Linked DNA regions of Homo sapiens: regions 1 and 3 are each linked to region 2. Evidence: promoter capture Hi-C in 16 types of primary human blood cells and fetal thymus (Javierre and others, 2016). All regions are on one chromosome and are shown on one strand. The core of a region is centred on a gene start or on the middle of the fragment in contact, and the rest is flanking DNA. Distances in the headings are between cores, read along the strand shown.

Evidence for each region. Contacts are between HindIII fragments. The CHiCAGO score rates a contact against its expected background, and 5 or more counts as called.
Region 1: a fragment that was not itself captured here is called in contact with the fragment with the promoter of KY in region 2 in 2 of 17 cell types (endothelial precursors and M1 macrophages); the score reaches 11.3 in endothelial precursors.
Region 3: a contact is called between a fragment that was not itself captured here and the fragment with the promoter of KY in region 2, in 2 of 17 cell types (endothelial precursors and M0 macrophages). The highest score is 8.4, in endothelial precursors.

The regions. Positions count from the first base shown.
Region 1 is chr3:135,902,585-135,906,260 of GRCh38, forward strand. No RefSeq gene overlaps it. Among named protein-coding and RNA genes, the nearest start is that of PPP2R3A, 61 kb to the right of the region's middle. The HindIII fragment of the contact is 1,428 bases long and covers 1,170-2,597 here.
Region 2 is chr3:134,648,516-134,652,381 of GRCh38, forward strand. KY (kyphoscoliosis peptidase) reads right to left here and starts at 2,507. Exons shown (of 11, transcript NM_178554.6): 1 at 2,310-2,507. The coding sequence starts at 2,445. It also overlaps a transcript of CEP63 not described here. The HindIII fragment of the contact is 8,919 bases long and covers 1-3,866 here.
Region 3 is chr3:135,883,697-135,887,222 of GRCh38, forward strand. No RefSeq gene overlaps it. Among named protein-coding and RNA genes, the nearest start is that of PPP2R3A, 80 kb to the right of the region's middle. The HindIII fragment of the contact is 568 bases long and covers 1,109-1,676 here.

The DNA of each region.
Region 1 (3,676 bases), core at 634-3,133, 1.3 Mb after region 2:
AAAAGCTTTGGCCAAGAACAGGACACCCTGAGGTATGGCCTTGTGTGTGCCCTTCAGGGGCCTAGGAATTCTTGGAAGATCTTAGGCACTGGAAATGGCACCATGTCCACTGCTTACTAGACAAAACTGCAGACGCAGTCTCCCATGTCTGGAGCTTGAAGGAAATCTTAACAAAAGTAGCCAACACTTACTGGTGCTTTCCATGGGCCAGACTCTGTTCTATAAACTTTACATGCATTATCTCATTATTTTTTCACAATATTCCAATGGGTTAGGTACTTTTATTATTCCCACTTAACACACAAGAGAACTAGATCACACAAAGGTTAAGTAACTTACCCAAGATCACACAAGGAAGTGACTGAACCAAGATTCTAGCCTAAGCAGTCTGGCTCCACAGCCTGTGCTTGTAACCTCTATGCTATACTGACTCCCGAGAGTTTAAAATTGTTACCATGGACACTGCTACAAAGGAAAAGTGGTAACATCTGTCACAGTATTCATTGGTCTTCATCTGTACCATACCAGAAGGTACATCTCCCTGTCTACAGAAAAGTTACACCTAAACCCTCTATATTCTGTTGTATGAAACCAAGAGAAGCCAGGCTTATCCTGGCCATGGATTCTCTGGAGAACACCCCCAGGGATGTTCATCAGTGGGGATGTCTCCAGACATGGGAGACTGTGTCTGCAGTTTTGTCTAGTAAGCAATGGACATGGTGCCATTTCCAGTGCCTAAGATCTTCCAAGAATTCCTAGACCCCCGAAGGGCACTCACAAAGCCATACCTTAGGGTGTCCTGTTCTTGGCCAAAGCTTTTGGGAGAGTGGGTGGACTCTTCAGGAACCATTGACAGCCAACCCTGCAGGGTTCTTCACCCTATACCCCAACTTCAGCTGGGTTTCTGAGGTCACATGGCATTCTCTTCCCTCACCTTTCCCTCATCAGTTCATCAGTGGGGCTGAACATCCTGGGGAGGTTCTCCAGAGAATCTATGGCCAGGATCACCTTTTCTCCCGCTGCCACTAAGTATGTTCTCAAAGCTATGGCAATGTCATCATTGATTGGCCTGTGAATATGGAGAGCTATGATGGGCAAAGTACTGTTGAATTCTTATGTTTGACTGATTTTAAAACTACAGCACTTCTGATTGAAATCTTGGTTTACTAAGCTTGATGGAGTGACAAAACACCATATCGTATATGAAATTAGAGCTTTCTATTTGTCCTCCCTTCATCATCAAGGTGTCCACTTCAAATCACTTCTCTCCACTCTCTTCATTTCTATGACTTCCTCCTTTTTCCCAGCCTCCCTCTTTTCCTTCCATTATTCTCCTCTTCCATTTTTCCCCCCTTGTCTTAGTCAATCGTATTGCTATAAAGGAATACCTGAGCTGGATAATTTATAAAGAAAAGAGTTTCATCTGGCTCACAGTTCTGCAGGTTGTACAAGAAGCATGGTACCAGCTCTTGCATCTGGTGAGGGCCTCAGGCTGCTTCCACTCATGGCAGAAGGTGAAGGGGAACTGGCCTGTGCAGATCACATGGCAAGAGAGGAAGCAAGAGAGAGAGAGGGAAGGTGCCAGTTTCTTTTTAACAACCAGCTATCTTAGGGAAAATATACAACAAGAACTCATTCACTTTCCACCAGGGAGGGCATTAATCTACTCATGAGGGCTCCCCACCATGACCCAAACATTAGCCGCACCTCCCACATTGGGGATCAAATGTCAGCATGAGGTTTGGAGGAATCAAATATCCAAACCATAGCACCCACTTTCATATTTTTCCCATGGGGGAGAAAGCCCGCAACATTAGCTGACATGTAGTGAAAAGAGAATCAAACTTGGAGTAGAACTCCTTAGATTGAAATGTCAACTCTCTAGGCTTCATTTCTTTGTTTATAAGATGACTATAAGAATGTTTTTTCTCAGAATTCATAAATACTTACTTAATAGCTACAGTGCATTGAGCACTGCACTAGGCATCGGGGATACATCAGCGACCGGTAATACAGATGGTCCCAAACTTATGATGGTTCCATTTAAGATTTTTTGACTTTAGAATGGTTTATTAGGATAGTCCCATCATAAGTAGAGGAGCGTCTGTAATTATATGCCAACAACTGTGAGAGGTGCTAAGGAAGATCATACACAGTGCGATAACAGCATATAGCACGAGGGTCTGTCCTTCCAAGAGAGGGCTTAGAACTACCACAGTAAAATAAACTGAAGTGTATGACAGAACTTTGTAAACTGTAATATAATATAGAAATGTAAAGTATCGTAATTTATATTCTGATCTATTTCTCCTCTCTCTCTTTTCCTCATTTCTTTACCTTTCCTTCTTTCATTTTTTGGAACCCCAGGGTCAACTCTAGATTCTCAAACAAGGATTCATAATTACAAGATAATTATATAATCAGAAAAACTCCCAGTAAATATTCAGGGGGAATGGGATGGAATGTAGGGTATGGAAATAGAGATGAACCTTCAAGGATTCTTTAAATAAAGTTAACCTTTATTCTTTAAATAAAGTTAGCATCTATTGAGTATCCATGTCTGCCAAATGCAGTGTTAGGCACTGAAGGTACAATGAAGCTTGCATCTGGAAACAGCTGAGCACACGGTACAGTGTGTAAGTGCTTTGACTGGCGGAGAAGGAAGAGGGCGTGCAGAGCACAGAGGAGGCTTCAAAACCAGCCTGCAGTGTCAGAAGCAGCTTTACAGAGGGCACAAGGTCCAAGCTGACTCCAGAGAATAAGTAGGTAGGAGTTACCCAGTTGGTCAAACTGAGGGAAATCCATATCACCTCAAAGCAGCAACATAAAAATAGCCATGGAGCAGTAAGGACTTTAGAGGAATACAAGGAGAGCATTTCAAATAGTCTAAGGACGAGAGCTTCCTCTCTCTCCTAGAAAAGCCACAGAGGAAGAACACAAGATGGCAGTGGTGTTATGGGATTGCATGAAGCAGGGAGGCCTTGATGCATCAGACAAAAACTACAACTCACAATAGAAGTTTGCAAGAAATGGGTACTCCCTTGTCCACGGGGGGCTTGTGAAATAGAGGACAAAGCAGCAATATGTATCAAAAGCCTAAAAAATGTTCCTGGTCCTTGGCCTAGTAATTCAGTCTCTAGAAATGTAGCCTAGGTAAAGATTTTCATACAAGGATGTCTAAAATGGCATTATTTTCCAATGGTAAGGGGCTGGAAACAAGTCAAAGTCTAACACTGAAGTCATAGCTAAATGAACTATGGTACAGTAAAATAGCAGATGGCCAATTGCAATCATGCTCTTGAATAGCATTTAATGATGAAGAAAATACTTGTAATATTAAGTACAAAAAATAGGATCTGAAACTACATAGACAGTATAGTTCATATTTTATTTAAAACTTATCTATAGATGTATGTACATGTGTATGTGTATGTAAAGAAAAAAGACTGGAAGGAAAAATAAAATGTTGGCAGTGGTGGAATTACATGCAGTTTTTATGTTATTCTTTAAGCTTTTTCTAATTTCCAAATTTATAATATTCTAGCCTGAATTTATAATAAACATTATAGAAGAAAATATTAACAGTCTGTCTCTAAGAAATTAGATGAAAGTTGATTTGTTAAATTCTTTATGCTTTCCAAAATATTTTCCCAAATTTCATGCTATTGCTCTTTCT
Region 2 (3,866 bases), core at 1,257-3,756:
GTATATGCACTCTACTTTCTGATAGGAGTTGAGGGCTTTCAGGCACGTTTTGGAGAAGCACTGTTCTAGGGAAATGACTGGGAGGCTGCTAGGGCCTTACAGAAATGGGAGAGAACATCTGCTGGCTCTGCAGCCCAAATTCCTAGTGACCTAGCCTGTCCACACTCTCCTTGCCTTCTTGTCCCCCTGACTCTTTTCTTCCAGCAGAAGGGCCACTTCCAGCAGAAGGCCCTTCCAGCAGAAGGGCCACTCGTTACGGATTACTCCATCCTCTGCATTGCAACAATAATTGAGCTTTGATCTTTTCTGACATGGAGCCTAGGCCCTCTTTTATATAACCAAGGAAGATCCACTCTCCAGTGGAGGATCTGGAGTGTGGAGGAGAAAGGAGGAGATACCTGGAAGTGAGCAAGAGTTTGTTTTATATCTTGCACCCATGGGAGGCTTTGGAACAAGCTGGTCTTATTGGGCATTTTCCTCCCTTAGGCTGTTTTTCGAGGAAAGGGTCTGCAGGCTGGCTTTGCCTGGGGTCTCCTGAATATCATCTCTGCCCACCAGGCATCAAAAGCCATGCACTTTTCCTCTTCTCTGCTCTGGTTGTGAATAAGTGACACAGATCTCTACACTGTCATTCATAGCATCGGTGAGAAACGGCCATCAGAAAAATATTTGGAGAAAAAGTTCAGCAGAAAGGGCCCAGCCATTAGGGGTCTTTTTTTCTCTGTCATAGTCACTAGTGTGCATACATGAGTCTGGAGCCATGGCGAGTTTGTGCTAGGTGTTGGGCACCTCTCAGGGCAGTCCTGATGCCTGGTGTTTCCTGGGCTTCTCTGCATTCTTTGCCCTTTCTAGTGTCAGAGCCTTTAGAAGTGATGTGATCAGAGAGGATTGGGAGTAGGGGACTCGTGGGCTGACCTGGAACTAGGCCTCGCCACACACTGGAGAAGGCATTCTGGACTGTGGTACATGTATTCAGAGCAGTCTCATTTCTATCAAGAAGTTGATGCCCTCTGTTGACTTTCTAACTACAAATACCCTGGGCAGGCCATTTCCCCTTCTCCCAAGAGTAGGTCTGATAACTAAAGAGCCAACGAATCCAAACAACTCCTGCTTCAGTCAGGAATCAGCCCTGAGACTAGAGCGCCTGTCAACATACTCAGCCCTCTAGATTCTGTTTCTTTCCCCTGCCTGCCTTCCCAAGAGGTTCCCAGGGCTCTGGAGGCAGCTCCAGCCTATGTGGCTGGTAGTGGCAAGGCCATCCACAGCAGCATTACTTAAGCAAGGCAGGTGGAAGGTGGATGTTCAATGAGCACAGAGGCTCTGGGGACAGAAGAACCAAGGGCAGAGCAGCAGCAGGAATTCCAAGGAGCTCCAGAGCTGGAGGGGAGGAGAGAGGCAGAAGTCATTCTCCTGCATGGGCTGTCAGGCCTAACTCCTAAAGAACTGGCCCGCAGTCCGCCTAGTGCATCCTCACACCAGCCTCGGAGACAGCTTGCCATCCAGGACCCTGAGGTTCTCTGGCTTTTCAGGGGCTTATTTAACCTCCATTATCATCCCTCTGTACTCCATTCACATTGTGTTCTGTCGTCTGGAGAACAGAGAGGCCCGGATCCTGCTTTCCACAATCACTCTATAAACAGTCACTTTATTTTACCAATCTACAACTTACAAATTTACCCAGAAAGTGTGTAGGACAAGTAAAATTGATGGATAAGTTCAAGTGGAGACAGCAGGTTTCAAATCTTACCCTATCCAAACCTGCGTTCCTTTTACGCCTTTCATGCCTTCCATCTATAGGAGGCTGGGAGAAAGTCTCAAGAAAGGAGAAACTGAGGCTGTAAATTGTGCAAGGCCACACAGGGAGCTCCCCATCTAAAAGTCTGACTCAGCCCAAAGGTTTCCCAGCGTCCCCTGTGCCCTGCAGTGTGCTGTGGGGGGGAGCAGGCCTCTGCTACCCATGAGTCAGCCCTGAGGCTCTGGCCGCCTTCCTCCAGGGTATCTTCCAATCTTGCTCTACACCCGTTAGGGAGTGGCTGGGAGGAAAAAGACTCCCAGGGGTGACGGAAGCACCCACAGGCCTGCACAGGGAGTGAAACTGGGGCAATCACGGGGCTGCGCGTTGCCACGGGACTGCGCGTTGCCACGGGACGCCGGTGCCACTGCGGGGAAGCGACGGCAGCCATGGGGGAGAGGGTCGGGTTCGCTGACCTCGTTCGGGGGAGCAATGGGCGCCCCCCGGCGGGCAGGCCCTTGTGGCAAGGAGGCCAAGGTGCCGGGGGACCCGGGGACCCGGGTCGGGCGCGCGTTACCTCCTCCGCGCTGCAGCAGCGAGCTCGGGTTCGCCTGCTGGTCTGAGAGCGTACCCTGTGCGGCGCGCCGCTTCTCCGAGTGCACGATCAGCAGCATGTCGATAGATACAGCGTTGATGTCCTTCTTCAGCTCCATGATGCCGCCTCCTTTCCGACCTGGGCGCCGCGGCCGCACGCTAGGCTGCTTGCGCTGCAAATGGCCCCGTGCGCGCAGCTGCCCCACACGGGAGAGGGCGAGGGCGCGGAAGAGGGCGCTCCCCCGCCGCTGGAGCCGCAGGGCGCTGCTTTTCGCTGACTCTGCCAAACACGCCATTAGGGCCCGCCTGGGAGGGCGCTACCCTAATGAAGCGGCTCTAAGTCACCTTTGAAAGGAAATCCCCGGGCCCAAGCCTTGACCTGCACCGGGGCCATAGTCAGCAGGGGCGGCCGGTCCAGAGCCTCCCTCCCTGCGCCCCTGCCTCCCGCCCGGTGCACTTGAAGCGCTGGTCCTGGGCTCCAGGGCTTCTCTGGCTGAGCGCTGCCTCATCCCCACGGTCTCCGGAGGGTTCTCGAGAGGGCTGGAGCCGACCTCCCACGAGAAGCCCCTGGCAAATACAGAAATCGCACAGTGCTGTCAACATTGAGAGTAGATTCAGGAAAAGGAAAGACAGCAAAGGGGCTCCAGATTGAATTGCAAGATGTGCAGAGATTGTCCAAGTTTTGGCCTCGACCTCACTCCTTCCCTGGGTTGGTTTTGGAGGTTGACAGCTCTCTCTCCCTAGGAGGGAGTTGGGTGGGGTGTTGGAGTCAGGAGCTCCCCCCAGTTACGGCCCCTGTAGAACTTGGAACATGCCCATTGAGTATCAAGCTAACGATCCTCTTTGATCTGAAACGAAAGTCTTAAAGTCTCGGTTCGTTCTAGAAGCCTGGCTCCTGCCCTGTGGGGAAGGAGGGAGGGGGAGAGGAGGAGGCTGGGGCACAGGGAGCTGGACCTGAGAAGCCTTCTATTTTTAGCCCGGCCTGGCCTGCCCAGCCAACAGCAGCAGGGGTTTGGCTGTAGGTCTCAGGAGTGTTTACATAGGCTTCTGCCTGGTACCCCTGGGCACTACGGGCCCACCCTGCTGGGGGCGTTCCCCTAATTCGAGTTTCTACTGTTAATAAATGCACCCCCACATGGAGGCCTTTGCTCTGGGAGCCCTCCCCGCATTGGAGTGTATGGACCCCACCTTGTAGCATGGTCCTGAGAGTTCCCAGATCCTCCTTGGAGCAGCCTGTGTCACACAGACTGCATTCCAGTACCAGCTCCATCACTTCCTGGCTGTGTGACCTTGGACCAGCCATTTTCCCTCCACCTTCTCACCCTTATCACTGGGTTGATAAAAATTTCTCACATGGCTGTTGTGAGAATGGCATGAATGTAAGGCGCCTGGTGTATAGAAAGTGGTCTTCATATGGTAGCTGTCATTCTTACTTCATTTTAAGGGTGAGGAAAGGGAAAGATGGAGTGACAAGTGACTGATGGAGCAGAGAAGCAGGAGAGATGTCACAGCCACACTCTGAGATTCTGAAGGTCTTCCT
Region 3 (3,526 bases), core at 143-2,642, 1.2 Mb after region 2:
ATTCATTATGCCTGAAAAATGCAGCTCTCCAAAAAAGAGTGTCTTCTCAGCGCCCTCTCAGCACCGATTTTCCTAGCCGTTCTGCTACTAAATGTCTTCAAGCAGGCCCACACATTTCTGTGATCTTCTTTCCAGAGGAATAATCAGTTATTTCTTGTAATTTCTACTTAATAATATTACAATAGTGAACTTTTTCTTTCCCTCATTAAAGTAGTGGTAGGTTGGATCAGAGGAAAGTTGATTTGTGGTCTCCACCTTTGTAACCAAGCCCTGGTCTTTAATTGGGATCTCCTTCTGGCAGCATCCCTCATGCCCGTGACAGGAAAACATCTTTGGTTGGATCATGAATTCTGATTTTTTTACCTGAAGTTTTCAGTACTCCCTACAAATAAAATTTTAATATAACTGGTTTCAGTACATCTAGGAGCCTTTTAATTACCCTCCAAAAGATGCTTAGGCAACAGCTTGCTATTAGGTTAAACAGTGTCAGCATCTGTACTGTAAACACTAACAGGTTTATTACACATTGCAAACCAACATTTGTCTTCTACTATTTTTTCTCTGAAGAGTCTTCTCTGGAAGTATATCTCCCATCCAATGGACAAAATGGACATGGGGACACCATCTTTTCATCTCCTTACTCCCCTCCACATTGCAACCTGAACATTTCTGACAATAAAACGGTGGGACACCTTGTGATAATTCAGGAGCCGATTACACAGCCACAGGCTCCACAGGCAGGTCCTCACCCTCCTCGCATCTCACGCCTGACCATTTCACTGTTCATTACCCCCTTTTCCAGAGAGTGAGCAGGGAAAACAAAAGGAGATGAAATTCAAACCCATCCATTTTGCTCCCTATTAGCTGTTCTAGTTAAAATTTTAATAGGGAGCAGCTGAAATGATTAATTAATATGAAGTTTGAGGACTGTCTCTGCAGCTCATTTGTCTACTCTTCCTTCCTCCTGAAATCATCTATAGTACAAAATGTACTGGCCTTGGGACTAGGCTAAGGCAGTTACTATGACCCTGGTGGCCAGAGGAAAGATAATCACGGCAAGTAACTGAGGAAACAAAACTGACATTAGGCTTTTTTGTAAAGAATTCCAAGCTTTATATTATCTCCCATAACATTTTAGACTCTTTATTAAATTATAAAATATAATATCCTATGGCTATTAAAAATAGCTGCTGCTTTGTTTATTTATTCCACTTACAAAAACCCCACAACAGAGAAAGTCATACTTACAGAAATAATAAACCTTAATAATACTATAGGAAAGCTGACTGGTAATGATAACGAATTTATACGAGATACTAAACAAACATTCAGCAAGCTAATCTAGGCTGTTAAACAATTAATAGTGATTGTGCAAGATAAACCCTTCAGAGAGGAGAAATAAAACTTTGAGCTTTTCAAAGTGATCGTGCAAGATAAACCCTTCAGAGAGGAGAAGTAAAACTTTGAGCTTTTCAAAAGGAATATTTACCTGCAGATAGAGAAAAATGTGTATTAAAGAAATAGGCTATATTTTCCTCTAGATAAAAAGATTTTTGTCTGCCACTTTAATATTTGTTGGCTAATTCAGAACATTATTTTAATATTTCATCAGAAAATTCTTTTCACTCTAGGCATTTGGTTTTTCTATTATATCCAAGTGTATACTCAAGGCTAAAAGCTTTTACAGAAGGATTGCATCTTTAGTCTTTAAGAAACATGGTAAGATATATAATTTGCTGAAATTCACTTTATTACCAAATTTGCAAGAATATATATCCAAAACATGAAATGAGGTATTCATGCATATGAATACACATATGATACAGGCTCAACTTCCCAAGTCATCTTATCCAAACCTCAAGGACAAATTACCCATAGAGCGTAGAGAAATGGAAACACTGAACTGGACTAGAAGCCAGCTGGGTTCTAGCCCTGCCTTGTCATCCACCAGCTGTGAGACCTTGAACCAGCCACCTCCTTCCCTGGGCCTCTGCAAAAAATAGTCTCAACATTTCCTCCAATTCTTAACTTGTGATCTATGGGATGAAGGATCAGGTCAGATCAGAAGAAAACTCAGCTGAGTTAAAGAATGCAAATTCAAAGTTCAATTGAGGATATTAGTACATGAGAGATCCACGACTGGACACCTGTAACTAACAAGAGATGGTAAAGCTGGGGGATTGGGGCCACTCTCAGTCCGGAGTCTGGAGCTCAGTGCTGCTATTTTATGAATTTTATGATTGTAGCTATATATAACCAATTTCTAATATCTCTTTTGCAAGGAGGAAAATATTTTTAAGCCAGAATGCCAACCTATTAACCTACCCATTGGGGATAGCTATTTATAATGACTGAAATACTCCTCACAGCTATTTACAGTGACTGTTCTGTTATTAAGGTAACTAGAGCCCTGAACCAGTCATCAAAATGTTACCCAATGAGTACAGAATAAGTTAGATCTGAGCTGATGCTGAGCAAGGAAAGAATAGCATGCAAAACTTCTAAGGTCAGATTAAAAAGGTGTTCTTTATATATGCATATATATATAAAGTATATATATATACACTTTAAGTTCTGGGATACATGTGCAGAACGTGCAGGTTTGTTACATAGGTATACACGTGCCATGGTGGTTTGCTGCACCCATAAACCCGTCATCTACATTAGGTATTTCTCCTAATGCTATCCCTCCCCTAGACTCCCACCCCCTGACAGGTCCCAGTGTGTGATGTTCTCCTCCCTGTGTCCATGTGTTCTCATTGTTCAACTCCTAGTTATGAGTGAGAACATGCGATGTTTGATCTTCTGTTCCTGTGATAGTTTTCTGAGAATGATGGTTTCCAGCTTCATCCATGTCCCTGCAAAGGATATGAACTCATCCTTTTTTATGGCTGCATAGTATTCCATGGTGTATATGTGCCACATTTTCTTTATCCAGTCTATCACTGATGGGCATTTGGGTTGGTTCCAAGTCTTTGCTATTGTAAATAGTGCAGCAATAAACATACATGTGCATGTGTCTTTATAGTAGAATGATTTATAATCCTTTGGGTATATACCCAGTAATGGGACTGCTGGGTCAAATGGTATTTCTGGTTCTAGATCCTTGAGGATTCGCCACACTGTCTTCCACAATGGTTGAACTAATTTACACTCCCACCAACAGTGTAGTGTTTCTATTTCTCCATATCCTCTCCAGCATCTGTTTGTTCCTAACTTTTTAATGATCGCCATCTAACTGGCATGAGATGGTATCTCATTGGGGTTTTGATTTGAATTTCTCTAAAGACCAGTGATGATGAGCTTTTTTCCATATGTTTATCGGCTGCATAAATGTAAAAGAAGGTGGTCTTAACCAAGGGTCTCAGACCTAGGCCTGAGTTTCAAGAGATCTGTGTCCCTGATGAAATTATATGCAAAATTGCATATGGATGTGACCATGTGCATTTTTCTAAGAAAAGTGTTCATAGCATGTATTTCCTCTCAAAGGAGTCTGTGATCTCCAAATGTTCATGAACCCCTGGGA